Linked DNA regions of Homo sapiens: regions 1, 2, 3, 4 and 6 are each linked to region 5. The links are contacts of gene promoters, found by promoter capture Hi-C in blood cells and fetal thymus (Javierre and others, 2016). All regions are on one chromosome and are shown on one strand. The core of a region is centred on a gene start or on the middle of the fragment in contact, and the rest is flanking DNA. Distances in the headings are between cores, read along the strand shown. Region 1 has its middle 280 kb from the start of USP25. Region 2 has its middle 210 kb from the start of USP25. Region 3 has its middle 260 kb from the start of USP25. Region 4 has its middle 230 kb from the start of USP25. Region 5 holds the start of HSPA13 (heat shock protein family A (Hsp70) member 13). Region 6 overlaps LOC101927745 (a long non-coding RNA gene).

Evidence for each region. Contacts are between HindIII fragments. The CHiCAGO score rates a contact against its expected background, and 5 or more counts as called.
Region 1: a contact is called between a fragment that was not itself captured here and the fragment with the promoter of HSPA13 in region 5, in 1 of 17 cell types (monocytes). The highest score is 5.0, in monocytes.
Region 2: a contact is called between a fragment that was not itself captured here and the fragment with the promoter of HSPA13 in region 5, in 9 of 17 cell types (naive CD4 T cells, total CD8 T cells, fetal thymus and 6 more). The highest score is 13.5, in naive CD4 T cells.
Region 3: a contact is called between a fragment that was not itself captured here and the fragment with the promoter of HSPA13 in region 5, in 4 of 17 cell types (total CD8 T cells, naive B cells, activated CD4 T cells and 1 more). The highest score is 5.5, in total CD8 T cells.
Region 4: a fragment that was not itself captured here is called in contact with the fragment with the promoter of HSPA13 in region 5 in 8 of 17 cell types (total B cells, activated CD4 T cells, non-activated CD4 T cells and 5 more); the score reaches 7.3 in total B cells.
Region 6: a contact is called between a fragment that was not itself captured here and the fragment with the promoter of HSPA13 in region 5, in 1 of 17 cell types (M1 macrophages). The highest score is 6.5, in M1 macrophages.

What each region holds. Positions count from the first base shown.
Region 1 is chr21:15,445,406-15,449,512 of GRCh38, forward strand. No RefSeq gene overlaps it. Among named protein-coding and RNA genes, the nearest start is that of USP25, 280 kb to the right of the region's middle. RefSeq lists an enhancer at 1-292. The HindIII fragment of the contact is 7,816 bases long and covers 1-4,107 here.
Region 2 is chr21:15,514,694-15,518,253 of GRCh38, forward strand. No RefSeq gene overlaps it. Among named protein-coding and RNA genes, the nearest start is that of USP25, 210 kb to the right of the region's middle. The HindIII fragment of the contact is 352 bases long and covers 1,940-2,291 here.
Region 3 is chr21:15,471,475-15,475,445 of GRCh38, forward strand. No RefSeq gene overlaps it. Among named protein-coding and RNA genes, the nearest start is that of USP25, 260 kb to the right of the region's middle. The HindIII fragment of the contact is 7,421 bases long and covers 1-3,971 here.
Region 4 is chr21:15,493,381-15,497,160 of GRCh38, forward strand. No RefSeq gene overlaps it. Among named protein-coding and RNA genes, the nearest start is that of USP25, 230 kb to the right of the region's middle. The HindIII fragment of the contact is 1,492 bases long and covers 826-2,317 here.
Region 5 is chr21:14,381,383-14,385,102 of GRCh38, forward strand. It overlaps HSPA13 (heat shock protein family A (Hsp70) member 13), which reads right to left and starts at 1,764. Exons shown (of 5, transcript NM_006948.5): 1 at 1,713-1,764; 2 at 1-161. The coding sequence starts at 1,737. It overlaps LOC105369304 (a long non-coding RNA gene), which reads left to right and starts at 1,384. Exons shown (of 2, transcript XR_007067924.1): 1 at 1,384-3,720. RefSeq lists enhancers at 1,471-1,780, 2,171-2,300. The HindIII fragment of the contact is 7,322 bases long and covers 861-3,720 here.
Region 6 is chr21:15,428,639-15,432,572 of GRCh38, forward strand. The region is part of intron 2 of LOC101927745 (a long non-coding RNA gene); the gene reads right to left. Among named protein-coding and RNA genes, the nearest start is that of USP25, 300 kb to the right of the region's middle. The HindIII fragment of the contact is 1,787 bases long and covers 525-2,311 here.

The DNA.
Region 1 (4,107 bases), core at 1,171-3,670, 1.1 Mb after region 5:
GCATCTGAACCTGCCTGCACCTGCTCATTGTCCATTTGAATTGCTTCTCTGCTGGAGGTATTCCTGGGGCCCACTCTGGCCTACTGCCTTTGGGCTTCACCTGACCTAGCTCTGCATTTACAAAGCAAGCCCAACAGATTTCCACCATACATTTCAAACACCGAGAATGACACTGATTTTGAAACTCAGCTACACTGCATAGAGGAACTCCCTGAATACACCCAATCACCCAATTTAGGGAAGTACGAATTTTCTGACAATGTGAAAGGGAAATGACCTATTTTAAACTAAAGTATTGAAAATTTCTAATTATTCTCATTCCAAGGGAAAAAAATGAAAAAAAAAAAAATCCTAAAGAAAAAGAACAATTCCCTCCTATAACCTATCCCTTAAAGGAATGGACAATACTTGGGTAATGATGTTCAACTTATGCATAAGAAGACAAAAGGGCATTTTTTTCTGTATGGCTTCTTTGCCAGAGACCCTTTGGTAATGTGAGGTTTTTCTAAAGGCATAAGGGACGATTTCTCTATGTAGTTTTGCAAGGTCCCTTTCATTCCTTCTGACATCTTACTTTATCCTTTTCCTTTTTCTCTCCCTAAATGAAATGGATGTCTATGTACATATATATTTTCTGAAATACAAATGTAGAATGGCATGTAAGTACCATAAACCTGAGATTTAATTTAAATGCAATATGTAAGCAAGGCCTGTTAGGTCCTGGGTCCCAGTAAGAAATGGGATTCACCCTTAAAATGGTTTAAGTGAAGATATGTTAACGGTAGCACTCCAAAAAGGCATAGGCAGAGTTTTAGGAGCAAATAAATAATTTACCCAGGGACTAGCAACATTACAACCTCTTGGGCTGAAGGGACAATGAGAAGAAATAATGTTAACAGAACCCAGCGAGAACTGGAAGCACAGAGGAGGGGCCGCCCAGTTGGAGCTGTAGTTTTGGAGAAATGCAGCAGCTGCCCAAGACGTGGTGCTGAAGCCACAGGGCAGCAGAGAAGAAATACCCTGGCTTTACTTCCTTGCAACTCAGTCAGCTCCTGCCAGTACATCCTGTGGCAAAATATCAGCTGTAACCTGTCAGTAAAAAGATTCAGTGGGGTTAGCTTCCTGATACACAGCAGGGAAAACATGGGTTGCCAAGGAATTTGGTATGGAGACTAAGGAATAATTTGCACAAAATTTCCCATTTAAATATGAGAGAATTAGAGTGAATTCAATCATCGGGTTTATAACTAACTTTCAGGAATTTAAAAAATGTGGAAGGATGATGCTATGGATTGAAATATGTCCTCCCTAAATTCATATGTTGAAACTCCAATCCCCAGTATAAAACGCAGCAAGAAGGGGGCCATCAGCAGGCCAGGAAGAGAGCCCTCACAAAAAACGGAATCAGCCAGCACCTTGATCTCGGACTTCCCAGCCTCCAGCATCATGAAAAAATAAAGATTTGTTGTTTAAGTCACCCAGTCTATCATATTTTGTTATGGCAGCCCAAGCAAACCTATGCAGCCGGGTCAAGTATTTTATATATATATTATAGGAGAATACATGCTTTGAGTCATATAGAACAGGATATTAACACCAACTCTAAATTGCTATTTGTAGATTTGGGGAAACACTCCAAACTTCAGTTTTCTAAATTAAATAAGTACAGTATTTTCTTCATTATTGGGCTTTTTTTTTTTTTTTTTTTTTTTGAGATGGATTTTTGCTCTTGTTGCCCAGGCTGGAGTGCAATGGCACAATCTCGGCTCACTGCAACCTCTGCCTCCCGGGTTCAAGCGACTCTCCTGCCTCAGCCTCCCAACTAGCTGGGATTATGGGCATGAACCACCATGCCTTGCTAATTTTGTATTTTTAGTAGAGATGTGGTTTCTCCATGTTAGTCAGGCTGGTCTTGAACTCCCAATCTCAGGTCATCTGCCCGTCTCAGCCTCCTAAAGTGCTGGGATTACAGGGTGAGCCACCCTGCCCAGCATTATTATTGGGCTTTTTAAAAGCATCACATTTCTTCTTGTATATTTTCTTTTTTTAATGAAGTACAGTCTTTACAATAGCCTTTAGTGAAGATTTGCTCCTAAAAACTTAGCTTTTGTTTATCTGATGATGGCTTTATTTCAAGTAGTTTCACCTAGTATATAATTATTTGATAGTCATTTTCTCTTGACTCTTTGAAGACATTTTTCATCATCTTCTGGCTTCCATTGTAGCTGCTTTCATTCCTTTGTAGTTATTTCATATTTGCTTTGTTTTTGGTGAGCTGAAATTTCACTAAGGTGTGTTCAGGTGTGTGTTTTTTTTGTTGCTACCTACTTATATTTCACTGAGGTCTTCTGATGTAATCTAGTCTGCCACCAATATTGGGAAGCCTTTAGCCATTTTTTTTCCTATACTGACTTTTCTCCATTCTCTATATTCTCTTGTGAAATTCTAAGCAATAAGCCAGACCTTCTAACTTTACTGTAATGTCCCTTAACCTCTATTTCATGTTTTCCAAATATTTACCCATGTTATATTGAGTCATTTCTTCTGCTGTATTTTCCAGTTGTAAATTCTCTCCTCAGCTGTATCTGATACTCTACCATTGAGTTTTTAATCTCAATAATTATATTTTTTACTACTGTAAGTTCTGTTTTTAAAATTTTTTAGCAATTCTGCATGATCAGTCTCCACAGTCTTATGCCTTCCTCACACATTTGATGCCTTTCTTTTTTTCTTTTAAAATTTAAAAATTTTAGTAGAGACTTAAAAATTTTTAAATTTTAAAAGAAAAAAAGTAGAGATTTAAAAATTTAGTACAGATTTTAAAATTTTTAAATTTTAAAAGAAAAAACAGTATTCTTACTTTTTATATTCTAAATGCAGTAATTTCCATATCTGAGATCTTAATGCATCTGATTCTTTTCTTTGTATTCTTTGTTGTTTATCCTCTTTCTTGGTCTCAATATGTTATTTTCCATTGTGTTTTGTTATTTTTGTTGTTGTTGTGAGTTTAGGCTTGATGAAACTTTTTCTGTGAGGCTATTCTGAGTCTTAGATTGAGAGTGTATTCCTCCAAAAATATGTGTATTTTCTTATGGCATTCATCAACTAGCACTACCAGTCAGGGGGTGATATGAATTTGGAGCACAATCCCACATTAGGCCCCGTTTATACTGATACATTTCCAGTGGGTGTATTTTTTTGTTTTTAAAAATGAGGTAAAATTTACATAACATAAAACTAGCCATTTTAAACTGTACATTCAGTAGCATTTATTACCTTCACAATGTTGTGGAACCATCACCTCTATCTAGTTTAAAAATATTTTCATCACCCCAAAAGGAAATCCCAAACCCACTGATATGGTTTGGCTGTGTCCCCACCCAAATCTCATCTTGAATTGTCATTCCCATAATCCCCATGTGTCATGGAAGCCACCTGGTGGAAGGTAAATTAATCAGGGGAGAAGTTACCCTCATGCTGTTCTTGTCATAGTGAGTGAGTTCTGAGAAGATCTGATGGTTTTATAAGGGGCTTTCCCCACTTTTGCTTGGTACTTCTCCTTGCTGCTACCATGTGAAGAAGGACATGTTTGCTTCCCCTTCTGCCATGATTGTAAGTTTCCTGAGGCCTAGCCAACTGTAAAGAACTGAGCCAATTAAACATCTTTCCTTTATAAATAACCCAGTCTTGGGTATGTCTTTATTAGCAGCTTGAGAATGGACTAATACACACACTAAACAGTTACTTCCCATTACCCAACTACCTATACCCTGGCAAACACAGATGTGCTCTTTCTCTCTTTATAGACATACCTGTTCTATATATGTTATACAAATGGAATCACATAAAATGTGATGTCTGATTTCTAGCTTCTCTTATTTAATATACTTCCCAGGTTCATCCATGTTGTAGCATTATCAGTATTTTATTCCCTTGCATGGCTAAATTCCACTGTACACACATATTACATTTTGCTTGGCCATTCCATTGATTGACATTTGGGTTTTTTATATCTTTTCACTACTGTGAATAGTGATGCTGTGAACATTCATGTTCAAGTCTTTGTTTGAATATCTGTTTTCAGTACTTTTAGGTATACACCTAAGA
Region 2 (3,560 bases), core at 866-3,365, 1.1 Mb after region 5:
TATGAAAGGCATTTTAGCTGCTATTTCCCTATTTCATAAATGTAAACAGCACAATATACCAAAATAATTCATCTCTTGTGAGATTATCCACTAGTTAATGTTTCCATTCTATCTAGAACCCAAATGTGCTAGTATCCATATCATCACCGTTGACTTCCTCACATTTTTATTATGGAATTTGTCCAACCTACTCAAAAGTAGAGACAATAAGTAATGAGCCCCATGTGCCAATATCTTGACAGTTTCATTTCATGTATTCCCCAAACACCGATGTTTAAAGCAAGTCTCAATCACTGGAACGTTTTACCTGTAAACACTTAATTATACTTCTCTATCACAATAAGGATTTTTTAAACATAATGACCGTGACAGTGATTGATAGTCTATCTATGACATTATAATCTGTTTTAACATTTTAAATAATTATATTAGGAAGTCTAAATTCCAAAATCATTTTCAATCTGTTTAAATAATTGGGGCATCACTATACTTTTTGGACGTTTCTCTTCAGTAACTGGAAAGGGTTCGGCAAAGATTAACAATCTGCATTTTTGCAGATGGACAAGTACTGTGTGTTCAGGTCAGGCCTGAAGAGTATTAAAAGAACTCTGAGGAGGATGTTTCAAATATCCTGGCTATGCCACTCAAACTAATGCTATTAATCGGCTCCTACCTCTCCCTCAACTCTCATAGACACTAAATTCCTATCTATAACTTTTCAGCAAATATTATTCTCTTTACTTGAGTTATCAAAGATAGCCCCAGAGCAATGAAACTATTCAGTTCCAAAACCATCACATTTACTACGATTGTCACAACAATAATCCTTTCCTAAACGTATACATTGTTTTAAATGTCTCAGGACACTCAGAGTCAATGTTAGTTTAATTTAGTTACTTTAAAAAACGAAAGTTGAAGTCAATAAATCTCACCATGGGCAACCTGTTTCCTAGCTTGGGCTGCAGACACAACAATTTATCTCTTGGAGTTACCCGTAACTCTCTGGAGCTATATTTGTGACTGTCCTAGGAATATTAGCTAAAGCCCAACAAAGAGGTGAAAGTTCTGTTGCAGTCAAAGTGATACTTGTCCTTACAGAGAGTTAAAATAATATATCATAATAATAGAAATATAAAAAATATAGTAGGCATGTATATTTATATATGTGAAAGACTGAATACATATGAGTAGAAAATTAATGCCAATAATACTCAATGTACATTACTCCTCCTATCATAACAATATGTATAACTGCCTAATAAATACTTCATATGACATAAAAAAAGAAAAAGAAAATTAATGCCAATAATCCAACTAAATCCATCAATCATTGAAAAAATTGTACATTTTTCTATTGTTTCAAATCTGCTGATTTTTCTGGTTATGTATGTACTCTTTAGAGAATGTTAAAAAAATGTGTTAATGCTGACAATTAACTTTTAGGAAAAATAAAACCAGAAACAAAAAATCCTGTTGTAATATCCTAGTAACGCCTAAAGAAAATATCAACAATTACTTTGTTTTGCTTTGTTTTGTTTTATTTTTCTTTTAAGCTGAATAAACCATACGAGCCTATTGCTTGGTTTGTCACCAGTAGATGCTGATCATATTACATAGTTTGGCAATGGTTTTTAATACAGATACAAACATACATATAATTTGGCATGAGTAAAGGAGAAGCAGTAATTACATAATTTAAACTGCTTACACTTAAGTAAGTATAGATGAAACATTAATGAACCATGCCATGGAAATACTTTTGACTGCTTAAACATTATTTTCAAATTTGCTTTTGAAAAACTAACTTTGAAATATTTAATCTGCTGAGAGCTAAGCCATCAGTTTTTGTGAGTTTATATACAATAGGAAGGACAAAGTATGACAGAATGATCTCCAGGTTAAGGGAAATCTTACATAATTTTTACTACTACTGATGCTAAGCTTTCTCTTTGGGTAGTTTCCCAATGGCATTTTAATTTACTTTATTTGACTTCACAATGCTTAGGAGTTGGGCAAAGTCCATTATTACCCATTATTCTCTGAAGTTCAGAAAAATTGCAAAATGCATAACTTCTGGTATGCTGGAAATTTATACACCTTCATCAAGGTGTTGGTTACATTAGTGTAAACTACGTAAATTTCCATCAAGCTATACAATTACAATTAATGTAAGCTATACTTTAATAAAAATATTAAAAAGAAATACACTCAGTGACAAACTGAGTAAACTAGAGAGGCTTTCATATACTGTGTAACAATATTTAAATCCTATTAAGGAGATAGCCTCTAGAAGCTTCTTCCTGAAATAATATGACTATTTAGTTAGACAGAAAAACAAATGAACTTCCACTAAAGTGGTAGGAAATTTTACTGACCGCACCTTGCTAAACAAAATGCAAGATAATTTTCTTTTCTAGTAGTCAATGTCCACAGCCCTCATAGAATAAGATAATGCAAAAGATGATTTTATTGACTATTCACTGCAATACCTAATTACATAAGTAGCTGCTCATTTAGAAAAATAATCCAACTAGTCATTCCCTTTTTTTCTGTGGGATTCGGCTGTTCTAATTCTTGGCCCAATGGACCAAGAAGGTGGTCATGAATCAACAAATTATTTTGCCTGCTTAAATTGCATGAATTTACAAATTGGTTATTCAGAATTAATGTGAAAAAATTTGGAGAGTGTGTTGGGTCAGTGTATAATGAGACATCTGTAGCTTTATGGTAGTGGGGGCAGAGTGGAGTGGGCTGATGGGCCTTTCTGTAGCCTTATGAGGCAGAAGTTACAGAGCATTCAAATACTTTCTCTAGTGAAAATGTATGGTGCCCAAGTTTAATATGTCCTACTGCTCTATTTTGGTAAACACTGCATGAGTCACTAAACCATAGAGAAAGATTTCAGAGAGGTTACATGGGTAGTGGCTATAGCTGACATAGGTTATCATGTCAAAGGATATTTCAGCCACAGCTAACATATAGAAGAGTCACACAAAAACATGCCTCTATAAATGAATATTTGCAGATCTGGTAGGGCTTGGGCACTGGAACTAACATATTCTAAACTGGGATAGCAATACTCTAACAGTAAGATGAAAAAAGTACAAACCTTTATCAAATTGTGTATCTTTTTGTATAGCTTCACTTAAAGAATATTAGTTATATACTCAGGATGTTCCAAGAGAATGAATTGAGAAGGAGCTATCTTGGAAATTTAAGAATAACGTTAATCCAAGTGACTTCTAGACCTATAAATAGTAAAAAATGCATCTCAACATAATATGCATCTGGAATTACCTATTGACTCTTCATTGATATTTCTGTGGGGTGGGGGGAGGGGGGAGGGATAGCATTAGGAGATATACCTAATGTAAACGACGAGTTAATGGGTGCAGCACACCAACATGGCACTTGTATACATATGTAACAAACCTGCACGTTGTGCACATGTACCCTAGAACTTAAAGTATAATAAAATATATATATATATATATATATATATATATAAAGAAACTTGGTTCCTCAGGCAGCAGAGATCAATGGAGACTTTCAGCACGGAA
Region 3 (3,971 bases), core at 740-3,239, 1.1 Mb after region 5:
GCAATGAAGTATATGTAGCAATGAGTATCACACAGCCTCACACAGTACTCTAAGAAATGGTTAAGAAAAACAAATCCTCCATAAAAATCAAGTAAAACTATAAATAATTAAAAACTGCCTTTGGAATAAATGCATATGAATACTAAGTCTAATTAGCAATAAGGTCTTTAAACACACACACACACACACACACACACACACACACACACATTCCAAGGCAGACTTTGTAAGGCAAAGAATAATTTTAAAAAATGCTGTTGCTGTTCCCTACAAAAATGCTGATTAAAGATTGCTACCCGCTTCTTACCCCAGAGAAAGTGGAAAGTCAAACCCTGATGCCCATATTTGCCTGTATCATGTCCAAGAAATTATGGTAAATTGTGAATCAGTCACTACTAACAAATCCATTTGTCCTCTTCATAAAGACTGGAGCTGAAGAATCTGCTGTCAGGATTCGATGGACAGATATCTAGAACAACAGACCCAGTGAATATTTGCTGAATGAATGAACCTTGGATTTGGAAAGCCTTCTATACCAGATTCATGTTTCTGATGTTCTGAATGGAGAAAAACAAGTAAAGAGTTATCCTCAAAGTTTTCTCTCGTGATAGGGCTTATTTCTCTTTAGGTGTGCTACATACTATACTATGTTCTTCACATTCAAGATGAAACGGGATAAACGTCCTAACAAACTTTACCTCTCTGGACTTGACCTTTTAGATATATTTTGGTTCTGGTCTTGGCTTTTGGGTAAGTAGCTATACAGAGTTCATCCCTCACAGCCAGTTCAAGCTGGCTGAACATTATGTCCAGTAGAGGGTTCCCTGGGAGACTGATTTGGCTTAGAACCTTTTGACCCATTCTGTTGGCAAACTTAAAGGTTCACACAGGTCCGTCCTGATCCTTTCAACTATTTCAAACCTCCTATGCCCTTGAAGTGTTCTCTCACTTTTTTTTTCTTTTTTTTCCCTGAGTTCTTTTGAGCAGGGATAATTAGCAGGCGTATTAGTTTCCAAGGGCTGTCATAACGAATTACAAACTGGTGGCTCAAGATTACAGAAAATCATTCTTTTATAGTTGTGGAGGCGAGAGTCTGAAATCAGGGTGTCAACAGGACCATGCACTTTTCAAAGACTCTGGGGGAGAATCCTTCCTTGTCTATTTCAGATTCTTGGCTTGTAGTTACATAACTCCAATTTCTGCCTCTGTCTTTGTATGATCTCTCCCCTGTGTTTTCTCCCTTTCTATGTATCAGGACATTTTTCATTGAATTTAGGGCCAATTAGGATAATTCCAGATGATCTCATCTTGAGATCCTTGACTTAATTATCTCTGCAAAGATCCCTTTTCCAAATAAGGTCACATTCCCAGGTACCAGGTGGACATACCTTATGTGGAAACCACCATTCCATTCACTACAGTGAGTGATTCATCTTTAGATTTGAAGAGGTAAATAATTTGTGGTATTACATTTGGTGCTCTAAACATTTATTTTAAATATTCTGCATACCTTAACTTTGTGTCTATTTATTTTAAGTTATTGCTTTAACTTATTATTATTGTCTTCATTGGTAGTTCTTCTAGACCAAAGTTTTTCAGTCACAGCATGACTGACATTTGGGGCTTGATAATTCTTTCTTGTGGGAGGATTTGCTGCTCATTGTATTGTGTTTCACAGCATCCCTCGCCTCTACTCTCTAGGTGCCAGTAGCATTCCACCAGTTGTGTCAATAAAACATGCCTCTAGAAATTCCCAAATGTCCCTGGATCAGGAAATTGTTCTTGGTTGGAAACCACTGGTCCACTTCAAACATTTCTAGATAAGACTATTAGAAATTACACTGAAACACTAAAATTCATCTAAATCATAACTTTGATTTCTTTGGCTAAAACTTGTGCACTGAAAATATTATAAAAATGTTTTATTTTATTTTGGTTCAGAATAATGAGTTAATGGAACATTTTCCCAGGGTATACATAATTTTCAATGGCCCAGTCTCTACTCACGTAGCAAGTGATATGAAGGACCAGGCTTAGTGCATGCTCTCCCATTTACTTATCTGCTATTCAAAAACGGGCAGAAATCTGCTCCTTTCGACCAGAAAGGCAAACTGAATTCCTTCATAACAGGGTTTGACAGAGAAATATATGTGATATCCATTAATGAAGTAAAATTGCAGAAAAACCACTTCTTTATACAAAGAGAAAAAATATCAACCATTCACCTTTATTGCCATTAGGATCAACATGGAACACTCAAACAATGGTTCTGTTATTAATTCAGAAACATCCAACCCACTTATGAGTTAAAGCAAGATATTAGGCACAGATCTATGAGCTATTAATATTGTCTGTTTTAATAAAACATATCAGAGCTTACACTAACAAAAGTTGTTGCTTCAAGGTTGTAGACACCTTAGTAAGCTAGACAATTTAGTAAACTCCAAAACTGTCATTGCCCCATTCTCCAACCATTTTAAATGTTGTAGACCTGAAATAAAGGCCATCCTGAGTCTCAACAAGAACTCATTTTTGTTTAGAATTACATCTAATTTTGGTTAACTGGATTTTTATCTACAAAACTTGTTTCCAACATTCAAATCCACATTTAAAAGTTTAATATGGCCGGGCACAGTGGCTCAAGCCTGTAATCCCAACACTTTGGGAGGCTGAAGTGGGTGGATCACTTGAGGTCAGGAGTTCAAGACCAGCCTAGCCAACAAGGTGAAACCCTCTCTCTATTAAAAATACAAAAATTAGCTGGGCGTGGTGGTGAGCACCTGTAATCCCAGCTACTTGGGAGGCTGAGGCATGAGAATTGCTTGAACCCAGGCGGCAGAGGTTGCAGTGAGTGGAGATCATGCCACTGAACTCTAGCCTGGGCAACAGAGTGAGATTCCATTTCAAAAATAAATAAATTAATTTAAAAAATAAGATGATAATAAAATAAAATAAAAGTTTAATGTTACTACCAACAGAAATATTTTTAAGATTCCCAGTTTTCCAAGACAATTTAAAAAGACAAAGCAAAAATATTTTGAGTAATGATAGCTTCTTTGACATAAATATAAGGTCTCCCAAGGTAACCGCTCTGAGAAGGACAATAAGCATTTGGATTTATAAATGTTGCTACTTTTAAGAAAATAAATTGCATTATTTTACAGATCCAATCTATAGATAACCCATTAGCTAAACATTCTTTGAAAACAGAAATCAGATTTTTTTCCAGTTATAGCTAACAATACTAATTTCAAATAACAATTATAATAATTTATTATGAGAGAAGATCTTTTTGAGCTATTAATTAACTGAATTGAGAGGTAGCATAGCATACTGAATAAAACCATGGGCTTAGTAGCTCAACTGCTAGGATGCAATTGTGACTCTGTCAGTTATCAACTGTGTGACCTTGGTTTTCTACTCTGTAAAATTGGTCTAATAATAGTAACAACCTCATTAAGTTGCTGTAAAGATTACAAGTTAATGCACATAAAGCATGAAGAGTAGAGTCTAGTATGTAGTAGATGTTCAATAAATGATTATTTCTGTGATTGTTTCACTTTTCTCATGTCTCTTTTTATTTGATTTGATCCAATTCCCTAAAGACTTCACGTTAAGAAATAAAACATTTGACTCCAAAGACTTTTGGCAAGCTGCACTTTTCAGTCTCCTAGTTTGTCTTTATGGCCTTTGGGGTCCATATCTTTCTGCTGCATTTTACAAGTTCTGTTTCAATCATATTTACTTCCATTATATATTAAGTCATATTGAGACTACATAATAATACATGACAATAGATAAAAATTTGGTTAGCCCAGAGTAAAGAATTTAAAGTTATCATTGGACAGATAATAGAAAGAGGAGGAGGATTATTTTGTGTGACATAAATCAAGCATGGTGAAAAACAACGTAATGCTCCCTCATAGAAGCAGGTTTTCACTAAGGGGCTGATGATATTCAAATTGCATAAA
Region 4 (3,780 bases), core at 322-2,821, 1.1 Mb after region 5:
ATTTGTTTTGATTCTTTATTGTCTACAGTGTCTGATGTTTCTGCACCAGCTTCTGCTGCTAAAGATAAGATGACATTTGATAGTTCGGTTCATCCTATGAAAAGTTTAATTTAATTACAAAAGGGTCTGATTTGCTAGATTAAAAGGTCAAGTATTATAAAATTCATTTTTGGTGCAGAGATTTGAGAAAGCTGCACAGTGCAAAGTTCAAACAGTCAGAGAAGAGTAAGACACTTTAGAAAATGAGGAAAAATTAAAACTATTGGCTAATTTCATTGGAGAAGGAGAGACTAGAGACACATTCTTGTATATACAGCAGTTGAACATACCACTTAAAATAATTTGTTGTCAGTATTTTTTTTTTTAGCCTTTTGAAAGTTTTGCATCAGGGTGATTTGCCAAAAAAGGGGTGGGGGCAAAATTTAGGGAACTACGCTAAAATTGTCTTTGTTTGAAAATAGCACGAGACTCTACAGAAGTATTAAGATAAGAATGCTCCTAGACAGCACAGGCAAGGACTTCACCGCCTCTTCCCCTGCTCACCATTTTACCTCAACCACACAAGCTCTGCTGACTTTTATTGGGGATTAAATGTCTCCAGACTTAAAAAAGAAAAAAAAATGCAATGAAATCCAGATAGCTGTGCTTGCTCTCAGCCCACTGAAGATGAGAGACAATATAAGCGAACGTTTTAGGGCGACTTCATTTAAGAACATGAAGTGCCTGAGTAATAAGACGGACTGTGCCCATGGTACCAGGGTCAACTTGACCAGCTGACTAAAACAGCCTGCAACAGCTAAGTGACTACCTTAAGCCAAAGAATAAAGCTTTACAGAGGTACAGCTGGTTAGAAGTGAGTGTTAATAACTGAGTGCATAAAAGAGAGAGGGAAACAGCACAAGTGAGGGAAGCTGATGGACTCACAATTTGACTTCATCCCATAGATCAAACGTTGATCAAACGATAAAAGTGGATCAAAAATGACTCAACGATTCCTGGCTAGAGCTGATGAAAAAGGGGCTGCTTCATTGGACAATATGGCATGAGGAATGTGAGGAGCAGCTGGTATTTCAGTTCCATTAAAAACCCCTCCAGCTTACCGTGGGTATTCAACTTGTGCCGGCGTCGATACTTCCACAGGGGAGTTTTCTCCAGGTGGTGCGACAGCACAGGCAGGTTGCGCCGGTGGAACTTGATATTCCCTCACTCATGCCACCCCTACTTTTAAAAGAATCTAATTACAAAATGACTGGAGGAAGGGAATGTGTAAATGTCATATACCCGGACCTTCCGTAATACCAATGCCTTGTGAAATCCAAACTGAAAAAGTCGTACAAATGGATTTGGACAGAAATGCTGTTGCATGGATTGAAAACAGGCTCAAAGACTGTAAACAAGGATAATGACAAATGCCAGTGCAATCAAGGGCCAGTGGATGAGTTTTCCACCAGAAGACAGTGTCCAGAGATGCCCCATGAGTCAGGATTCGAGTTCATTTTTGGTCACTAGGTGTATTACCTACAAAGGAGTGAAGAGTATATGGACAAAATCACAGCCGACTCTCAGTGTGAAGGAGGGTAAAATTAATAAAAGGAAAATTACATTGAGTCAAAAGAATGCTAGAAATATAGAAGTGGAAAATCGCCTAAATAGTTACTGATATGAAAATAACTTGAGAGAGATTCTTCCCAAATTTCAAAGATTTGGAACACACCTGTAGATCAATGTAAACAATCCAGTTTGCCTGCCATTTTATCATCTTTCAAGTTTTTGATTTATGCTCCAATATTTATTTGAACAAAATAATGATATAACTTATGGCAGTGAATATTCTTAAATTTGAAAATCTCTATAAAAATGATATTTATTCATCCCCAACCCTCCCACTTTTGGGACCCAGATTTTTGGATGCAGGTTAATTTGCATGCTGATTTGCCAGCTGAAAATCTCAAAGAGAAAAACTTGGAAGCACTTGTAGTCAGTCAACTAAAGTAAAATGTAAGCAGAAAAGCTATAATGAAAATACAATTCATAATATTTGCACATGGAACTTATAATGACTGGTTAACTTTTAATGTGAAGAATAAAAATTTCCTGTCATGATGAAATGAATCAATTAATTACTTATTAATTGTACTTCTATTATGTGGTGAGCACTTTACTAAAAAGTCGTTTTTTTGTTGTTTTTTTTTTTTTGAGAAAGGGGTTGTACCAAAGTAAAATTAGAAAAATAAAAACAAGGAAAGCACATTTCTTTGTCTCAATAAATCATGCTCACAAGTAGATTCTTAGAATTTCAGAGCTAAAAAGGACCTAAAGCTTCATTGATTCTGACCTTTTTTATTTTGGATGAGAACTGGACTCCACAGGGAAGTGAGGATCCCTGGCTCGCGATGATGTGGCCTGCCAGAGTCCTTATGGGAATGTCTCTCTAGATGCCTCCTCATAGCTGTGTATCCATGAGACTCAGTGGAACTTTCACTTCCCATTGGCTTCCATCGGGCCTGTGATCCCACTTCACCTCTGTCCTTCCAGTCATGCTGGGCCTAGCCCAACAGAGCCACAGACTACTTTGCCCAGGCATTTATTCTGGAAGCCTGACCAAGCCTGCTGACTGGGCTGGGCTGTAGACTGTAGCGTTCATCAGTGATTTTCTTTGGCCAGAGTGAGCACCACTCTAAGCAGAGTCTTTCAGAACTTTGGAGCCACTTAATCCTACAGAACTTTTCATTCCTGCCATCATTGGCCTCCACCCAAAATGCACACTGCCATCGTCATCTGGTCTCTTACATCCTCATCCTCATGCTACTCAGTTTCCTCTCCTATGACTCATCCTTCCATTCCTACTCAATTTCCCGGCCAACCTCCTGGCTTTTGCTCTCATTGTTCCATCTGCCTGCCCTGACTACATGCTCCACCTGGTGAAAACCCACTGTCCTTTCAAGACTCATCACAATCACCTCTGCAAAGAAGAACCATCACCTGCCTCCCCCTAGCTGCAGCACCTCATAGAACTGACAATCCCCTCTATTTTTGCATTCCATATAGGGTGTAAAAATGGAGACGATTGCCAATTTGTGAGAGGTAGCAGCTATGATATAAATGGTTAAAGAATTTCTTTGCATGTCTGCTGCCACTAGAATCAAATCCCTCTAAGGGCCTAGATAGTTCTGTAACCACAGCTGTATCCTCAGTGCCTAGAACAGTATCTTCCAGCACACAGTATGTTCTTACTAAATGTTTCTTAATGAGATAAGCATCTCTATTGGACCATTAGCTCCTTGGAGGCAAGAATAATGTCTTCTTTCCCCATTACCCCATAGCTCCGGGCACAGAGTTGGTTATCATATATGGCTGGATAATTACATTAAATTCTTTCCATAGCGACTCTCTGGAAACCTTATTTCCCTGTAAATAAATTCCTCTGTTCATTCAAGCACTTCACCCAGCTCTCCCTCTATATAGTCACCTCTTTAACGTGATTCCTCCTTAAGAGATGAGACTTCCTATTTTGTCCTCATCAAACAAGGTTGCTCATTCTCACAACTCCTTTTATCTGCAACCTAAGGTCAGCCTATTAGTACTTCTAGATCCCCATTTCAGCTCAATTTCTTTCCTTCATAGACAAGATTATGGAAAGAGCAGTCTACATTCCAGTCCTTATCAGCCATCAGCTTTCAGTCCCTATTTCTATTGAAATAACTCTTAATAGGGTCAAATGTAATGGACTATTCTTGGAAATATTTCTGGCTACTTCCAGGCTCAGTTCACGTGTTTCTC
Region 5 (3,720 bases), core at 514-3,013:
ATTTTCATCTGGAATCACCTTTACTTTTCCTGTGCCAGGAAAAAACACCCCAACAGAACAATAGGTGGTGCCAAGATCAATACCAATCACTTTAGGAGTAGGCAATGGTAAATACTGTTGTGCCAAATAGCCGGCCAACAGGAGAGTCAAAACAGCCGATCCTGAAATAAAGGAAAATTAAAAGATGTATTTTATCAAACTAGTACAATGTACTAAATTACTGTAGCAAAGTCCCTTTAATATCACTCGTTGAAACAAGGCTAAAAAAGACAAATTTCAAAATTTTTTATAGGACTGCTGATAGCACTCCTCTCAGACAGCAAGTTTTTCAAAATGTAAACTGGTTATAATAAAATTTAAAATGAAGTAAACACAAACAACAAAAAACCCTATAACTGTATGTTTGTGTCATTCTCTAATAAATGTAATAAAATGTAAAAATATTTCAATAATATTTGTGCAGATGCTGACAAGAAACAACATTTATCTGGAGCAAAAGCCAGATATAATCTAATATTCTTGATCAATTGATATTTAGATTTTACAGCTTTATAAAAAGCTTCGATTATCTTTTTTTAAAAGCTCCATTATTAAAATTCTCACAAGAAAAACTTTATTATTTTATAAGTCTAAAATTCTCTCCTCGTATCTCACCTCCTTTTCCCTTTCAAAAGGATGAAATGAATAAATGGGATAAAATGATTTTGAAAGTTCCTTAGATATGAAACTGTCACTTCAAAACAGAACACAGTTAACTTTTTATGTATTTAAGTATGAACTAGGGACTTCCTTCTTGCAGTGGTAATATTTAGGGGAGAAGAAGCATAAAGGTGGGCAACCCTGACGGCAACATCTATGAAAGCTTCTTGAAGACAAGTTTCGTTCACTGTTGTATCCCCCAGACCAGGAATAGCAGATGCCCAACAAATACTAATTTAAAAAAAAAAGAAAAAAGAGTAGGAACAAATGCCACGCAGATTGTAAACATAAGCGAAGAAAGATGCCCCTTTAGTTTTTAATGAATCTCGTATTTGGTATCAGGAGGCTGTGTTATACACCTGTGTCCGCTCATATTACATATGACCCAAAACATGAATTTTCAGGGCTCTGTGTTACTAATTGTTAGCTCATCCTCATCAACACATAACTCAAAGAAATAAAACCAAGTGCGAATCCCACTTTCCACTTCCAGCTACAGGCAACATTTCAGAAGCATTTCATCACCTTGGAGACGCGGGGTGGGTGTGTGTGTGGGTGGGGGATAGGTAATTCCAAACCCGATGTGATGGAAAAAGCCTCCAAATTCAGCATCCCTGAGCCGACAGATCCGGATGTAGCTCCTCCCCCTTCCTCCACAAAGGGGTCCTGGAGGTGCACGTTCTCGCAGCCTTCCATAGCTTGCCCCAATTCAACAGGCAATTCAAAAACCTAGGTGCTGTTGAAAGGAACGCCTCCCTAAGCCTGATGTCCCTGGGATGGACACAGCTGGTCGCCGTCTATCCTACCTTGGCCTGCAGGGGCCGGGGCCCTCCTAGAGGCGTCCCCGCCCCCATCCACTCCGAACAGCCGAAAACCGTCTCTAAGTCACCTTTCTGACTCCCCTTCCGCTGCTCCAGCTAGATCCAGGAGGTGAGTCAACCACCCCTGCCCACTCTGGCATCCTCAGATCGCCTCTACGCCCGCAAGAGCAACAAGGACCCCCGGGAACCCACCTAAGATCGTCATCTCTCTGGCCATCACAGTCCCGCCGAACAGGCTTGTGATGACTGTACCAGACGTGAGGCACCGCCCCCACTCCTCCCGGCAGTCCCGCAGCCCCCTGGGAAATGTAGTCCGCTTGCTCTGAGGCAATCGGAGAAGCTATCGCTCTGACCAAAGCAAGGACTTCATCTACCGTGAGGGCGCGGGGCAAAGAGCCTCCATTCAACCGCTGCCAGTGACGACTGAGTCCCCCTTCCACGCAACGGCCGGCAGGACCAGTGAGACTGAGGGGGAGGAGCGCCGTGGCGAGAGACTGGCGTTTATAATCAAACCTGTGGTCCCGCGATCCTACTTGAGGGAAAACAGGCTATCTCTTTAGCCCCGCCCCGCGCTTTGCATTCTGGGAAGCGGAGTTCCAGCCTTTCTCTTTCCGCGGGAGGGAATGAAAGGGAGGGTGAGAACCGTTAGTTATTTCTTTCTTTGGTCGTGCCCCTAATCAGGTCCAGGATTCGAGTTTGTGTTCTTTCGTTTTAATTCCTTTTAAAGCGCGTTCGTTTGCCTGAGATCTAGCTTCTAGATGGCGTTCCTATAGCCTCCCGGAGCCCCAGCCATCCTCCGTAGAAGGGTCCCTGCCGCAGTGCGGGGCCTGAGGGAAGTCGGCTCTGGCGTCCGTGCTCCAACGCTGGGAGCAGCCCTGAAACTCCAGTGACCCTCAGCCGTCTGCCTTTGTTTTGGGATAAATGAATTCAAGCATTCTTCAGTCAATTCGATTTATCCAAGGGATCAGGGACACATTTTCTCTATTGCTAGCACTGACGTGGGCCATTAAAAACAAAAACAAAAACGAAATTAAAAAGAAAACCCTTAGCTCTCTCTTCAAGTAAGTCTTAAGTGGCCAAAATTGACCTTATGGGCAAGTCCTGTAACGTGACAGCCATTTTAGGACGCTTGTGACATGCTGTTCAGGTTCTAGTCTGAAGTAGGATTTTTCTCGCATCTTGGTCACTGGTAGCACTTAATGACTCCTCTGAGAGTGGTTTTGTCATTTTTGCTGTTAGAGTTCACGATAACTAAGATCCTGGAGAATTGAATCCATTTTCTCAGCTTAGATATAAATCAAACCATCCCTGTTGACAACACGTCAGCCTGCTGTGGGAATACATTGCTGGTTATTTCTGACTTATCAATGTGAATTTTGATTATGGAAGCTGAATTCTGGTTGATAGGGATCCATTGTAATGTTCTCTCTACTTTTGCGCATTTTTAAGTATTTCATAATGCGAAATATAAAAAGTGTGTGTCTATAGTGAGTGCTGTTCAATAAGATTCTTATAAGGAGTGAAGAATTCAAGCACTTAGTTCTTAAGTATTACTTGTAATGGGCAGTGGGCTGGAGGTGTTCCAGGCAGACGGAACTCAATTACCAAGAGCACAGAAGCAAGAGATCATCTATTCCATAGATTAGAAAGTGGTGGATCATAAAGCATGAGGTAGAATTCTGAGAGACAGAACTAGAGACTTAAACCAGATTAAGATTAGCCGTCTGTGACAAGCACTGGTCATTGGGATTCTCCCTGCCACTCACTCCTTTCTCCTTGCTAACAAGATCCTGATTTGTTCAAGAAGCAGGTAAAGATTATGTGATCTCAGAGTAGAAGGCCTTTAGAATTAAGATTGAACTAAATAGGTTGTATTCATTTTCTATTTCTGCCTTAACAAATTACCACAAATTTAGTGTCTTAAACCAACTCAAATCTATTATTTTTACAGTTCGGTATATCAGAAATTTGGTATGGGTCTCACTTAACTAAAAGCAAGTTATTAGCAAAGCTGCATTCCTTTCTGGATGTTCTAGGGGAGAATCAGTTTCCTGCTAATTTGAGTTATTGGCAGAATTCATTTTCTTGCAGTTGTAGGGTTCAGGTCTTCATTTTCTTGCTGGCTGTAACCTGAGAGCTGTTTCCAGTTTCTGAGGCCATACACATATCTTAGCTCAGAGACCCTCTTTCTCCATCTTCA
Region 6 (3,934 bases), core at 168-2,667, 1.0 Mb after region 5:
ACCTAAATGCATGTATATGACAAGAGATGCCATCACTGGTATGATAAAACCATAAAGAATATTCTGTGCAGAGTTGATCATTTCTTTTAAGGCCAGTTTTCCCACCTTCTTGGCTTGGCTAACACTATACCTCTTTCAAGTTTCAGATGAGACAGAATTTTTCTAGAAAGCCCTATGTGCTTTCTCTCACCATCTCATAATGTCATCTTGAAGTAGTATCATTACTAACCCAATCTTAACAGATGAGGAAGCTGAGGCTCAAAAATGGCAAAAAATTTTCCCAAATTTATACAAGCAATTTATTGTGGGGTGAATATTTCAAACCAAGTCTATCTTCAAAGCCAGTGAAGATTTTGGTCTTATTTACTATCTTGGTAATGGGTTTATAACCAGGTGATTATTTCTGAAAGGAGATGATAACCCTTTAAACTGTACATCACATATCATTTCAGCTGCAAAAAATTAAAAATGTGATTATTCAAGTTCATAAATTATATTTTACGCATAATCAATTTAACGGTAGAAGCTTTTCAGGAGGCTCATTGGGAAATCATAATGAAAGTGAGACAAGAATTGTCTTTTGGTCTACGTATATTCTGAATGAGTGCCCCAAAGAAGAGAGCTTCACCTTGCAACTCTCACCACTCTTCTCAGAGGGTGTGTGTCAGAGAATTAAGTATACTGAGGTTGCACATTGACACAACACACTTTGAAGAGGATGGTGACTTTTATTATAGATAAGAGGCAAATATTGGGAAATAGAAACATGTCTCTGAAAGTGAAATTCAAAGGCAAAAGAAGATTGTATATTAACTGTACTTATATTTGAAAATATAAAGCATGAAATATATAAAAATATAAAAGATATGTCATAATTTTTAAAGATATGAATATAGCTGTATGAATATCATAAGCAAGAAAAGAAGTTCTATTTGTGAGTCGACCCTCTCAAAATGAGATTGATGATGAATGCCATGTTACTTCAATTGTTAAGTATTCTTCTGCTATGTCATAATGATAAAAATGTCACAACCATTTAATTATTAATTTCTCATACGATGGGTAAGTTAGATTCAGAAAATGAACTCTTGTGCAATATGAACTCATTCTACCTCACCAAGAAGCTATAAGAAAAGGCTTTTTGTAAGCCTCATACATCCTGTGCATAGCATACAGGATCTAATGTAAACTTCACAATAATTCTGCAAGGCAAGAAGGATTGTCCCTCTTTTGCAGATTCAGAAACTGGGGCTCAGAAGGATCTTAGAAGTGGCTCCATGTTCACAGCTGGTTAGCTGGCAAAGAGAGATTCAAGATTTTCAAATTCAAGATTTTCAAATCTTTCAAAAAGAGATTTTAAATAGTGCCCCATTACCCATGCTTTTTCTACTAGGCTGTACCCAGTCTCAAAATTCCTGGCTTCCAGCCGTTCACTTAAGATACTGGTTTAAGCTGCCTGTAGATAAGAAGATAATGTGTTAAGACACTGAACGCTGACATAGAGATTTTAGTCCTCTTCAGTAAGAATCAATTTTTCAAAATCTGGAGCAAACTCAAAAGCTCCATTTTTGGATGATACTAGTATAATCACCAAAATTGAGTCATCCCTTAAACAGTAATAATTTGCACAATAGTAAACTCCCTTTGTTCTGATGGCCAGTATTTCTTAGGGGTAATACTTCACCCTGCATTCATTGAGAGGCCATGTGGCATCTCTGTGACTTTTGACACCAAGATCTGACCTTTCTGTGGGCCATCCAGGGCTTAGCCACTGACATCAACCACTCCTTTTACTATACCATTTCATGTTCTGTGGCTCTTAAACAAGAACAGATAGCATGATGTCCTCTGTTAAAAACCTAAGAAATCAAATTATCCTGTTATTAAACTTGTCCTGACATAAGTTACATGTTTTTGGTGTGATAGATGTGTGTATGGCGACAGAAAGCCAAGCATAGCTTGCAGTTTCCTGAAAGGATCTGCAGAAAAACTGAAATCTGGGAGTCATTTTGAAGTCAAGACTGTGGCCATAAATGTACTATTATTTCACTCAGTGGAACTGAGCACCTTCCTCAGGAGAGTCCTAAACAGAAACGGGAGGACAGGAAGTGAGCCAGATACTATTCTGAGCTTCACACTTCCCAAAGTCCTCCAGGAAGAATCTCAGCCATTACGACATCATTGTCTCTTGGGACCTCCACAATTAGGTACTTTCCTGAGAAAACATCCATGATTCCTTGTTTTCCTGCTTTTTCTGTTTCTTACTATGGTCCTTTGTACATGTGTTTCCCCATTCTTCTGCATTAAATGAAGCTTTTGAAAACAGACAATGAGATGTCTTGTCTTTCTCTACAGCACCTCTTCCCACTTCCCCCTTCCCCCAGTCCCACCTGGGCATCCATTGCTGGTAGGTAGGAGAGAAACTGACCTGCAATATTAAAGGTGAACCAAAGCCCTAGATATCCCAAAAGGGAGCTCTGAAGAGGGAATTACCTGTCAGGTTTCCCCATGTAGCAGGGTCTTCTTTTTCCCTCACACACACCTTTGCTTATCGCTGGATGCAGGTGCCCTGGAGTGGGTGGGACCTCAGGAGAGGTAGGCTGCACTCTGTAGCTGAGGTCAACCTCAAGGGGGCACTGGTTGGAGGCTGTCTGCTGACCACATGCCCTGAAGCTGGGCACCACATCTCTCCCTACAGGAGGATCTGGGTGGGACATCTAGGTGACCAACACACTTCCCATGTTACTCCACAAAAATGTTCTTCCTTACCATACACATATTGATGATGGCTACTAAAATATCACCTTCCAGATATTAATTTTAATGCAAACATTTCTGAGAAGTAACCCTTTAAGCTGGTACCCACTATCAATTTCTTGGTGAAACAGCTTCCTTTCTTTCCCATGAGAAAGTTTTAAAAGGAACAAGAAGGCATTAGGTACAGCAGCCAAAGAGCATGGTGCATTTGGGTGTGTGGGGGCATCAACCAATGCCACTCCTTAGTGTGGGGCCATTACATTAGTGTAATGTGTTTTGTGTTGCTATAAAGGAATAGCTGAGACTGGTTAGTTTAAGAAGAAAAGGGGTTTATTTAGCTCATGGTTCTGCAGGCGATATATGCATGGCACCAGCATTAGCTTGGCTTCTGGTGAAGCCCCAGGAAGCTTTTACTTATGGCAGAAGATGAAGAGGGAGCAGGTGTGTCATCCAGCAAGAGAGGGAGCAAGAGAGAGGAGGAGGTGCCAGGCTGCTTTAAACAATCAGCTCTTGAGTAAACTAATAGAGTGAGAACTCACTCATTGCCGTGGGGAGGTCACCAGGCCATTCATGAGGGATCCACCCCCATGATCCAAATACCTTCCACTAGGCCCCGCCTCTAACACTGGGGATCACGTTTCCACATGAGATTCGGAGGGGACAAACATCCAAACCATATCAGCAATCTCCTCACTTTACAGATGAGGAGACCAAGGTTCCAAGAAGTGAGGTGGCCCAGGCAGAGCCCTCCAACTGGTGAGGACGGAACACAGTCTCCTCCTCTGAGCTCTTCCCTTTTGCCTCTTCTCATGCAAGCATACAGAGAACTGGAGGGGCTTTGCCAGCACAGACAGGGTATTTGTTTTTAAAGTATAAAATAGTGCCTCTGCCTCAGAAGAGTCATTTGGTCTTCACTCATAAACAGAATAGAGCTCTAGTGCTGGGAGTGAACTCATTGCTATGCGTGTGTGGACAGTGAGGAATAATGGTTTACTAGTGTGGGAAAAACACAAAAACAAGATCTCTCTAATCTCTCTAAATCTTATTTCTTCATAGCTCAGGTGGGGATAATGAATCCTGCTTGCTTATTTCCCAGTGTGGCTGTGAAACTTTAGGAAGAATAAGCTAGTCAGTATTTAGTATAGTATTATTTAACAGCAAGCAAGCACTTATTTCA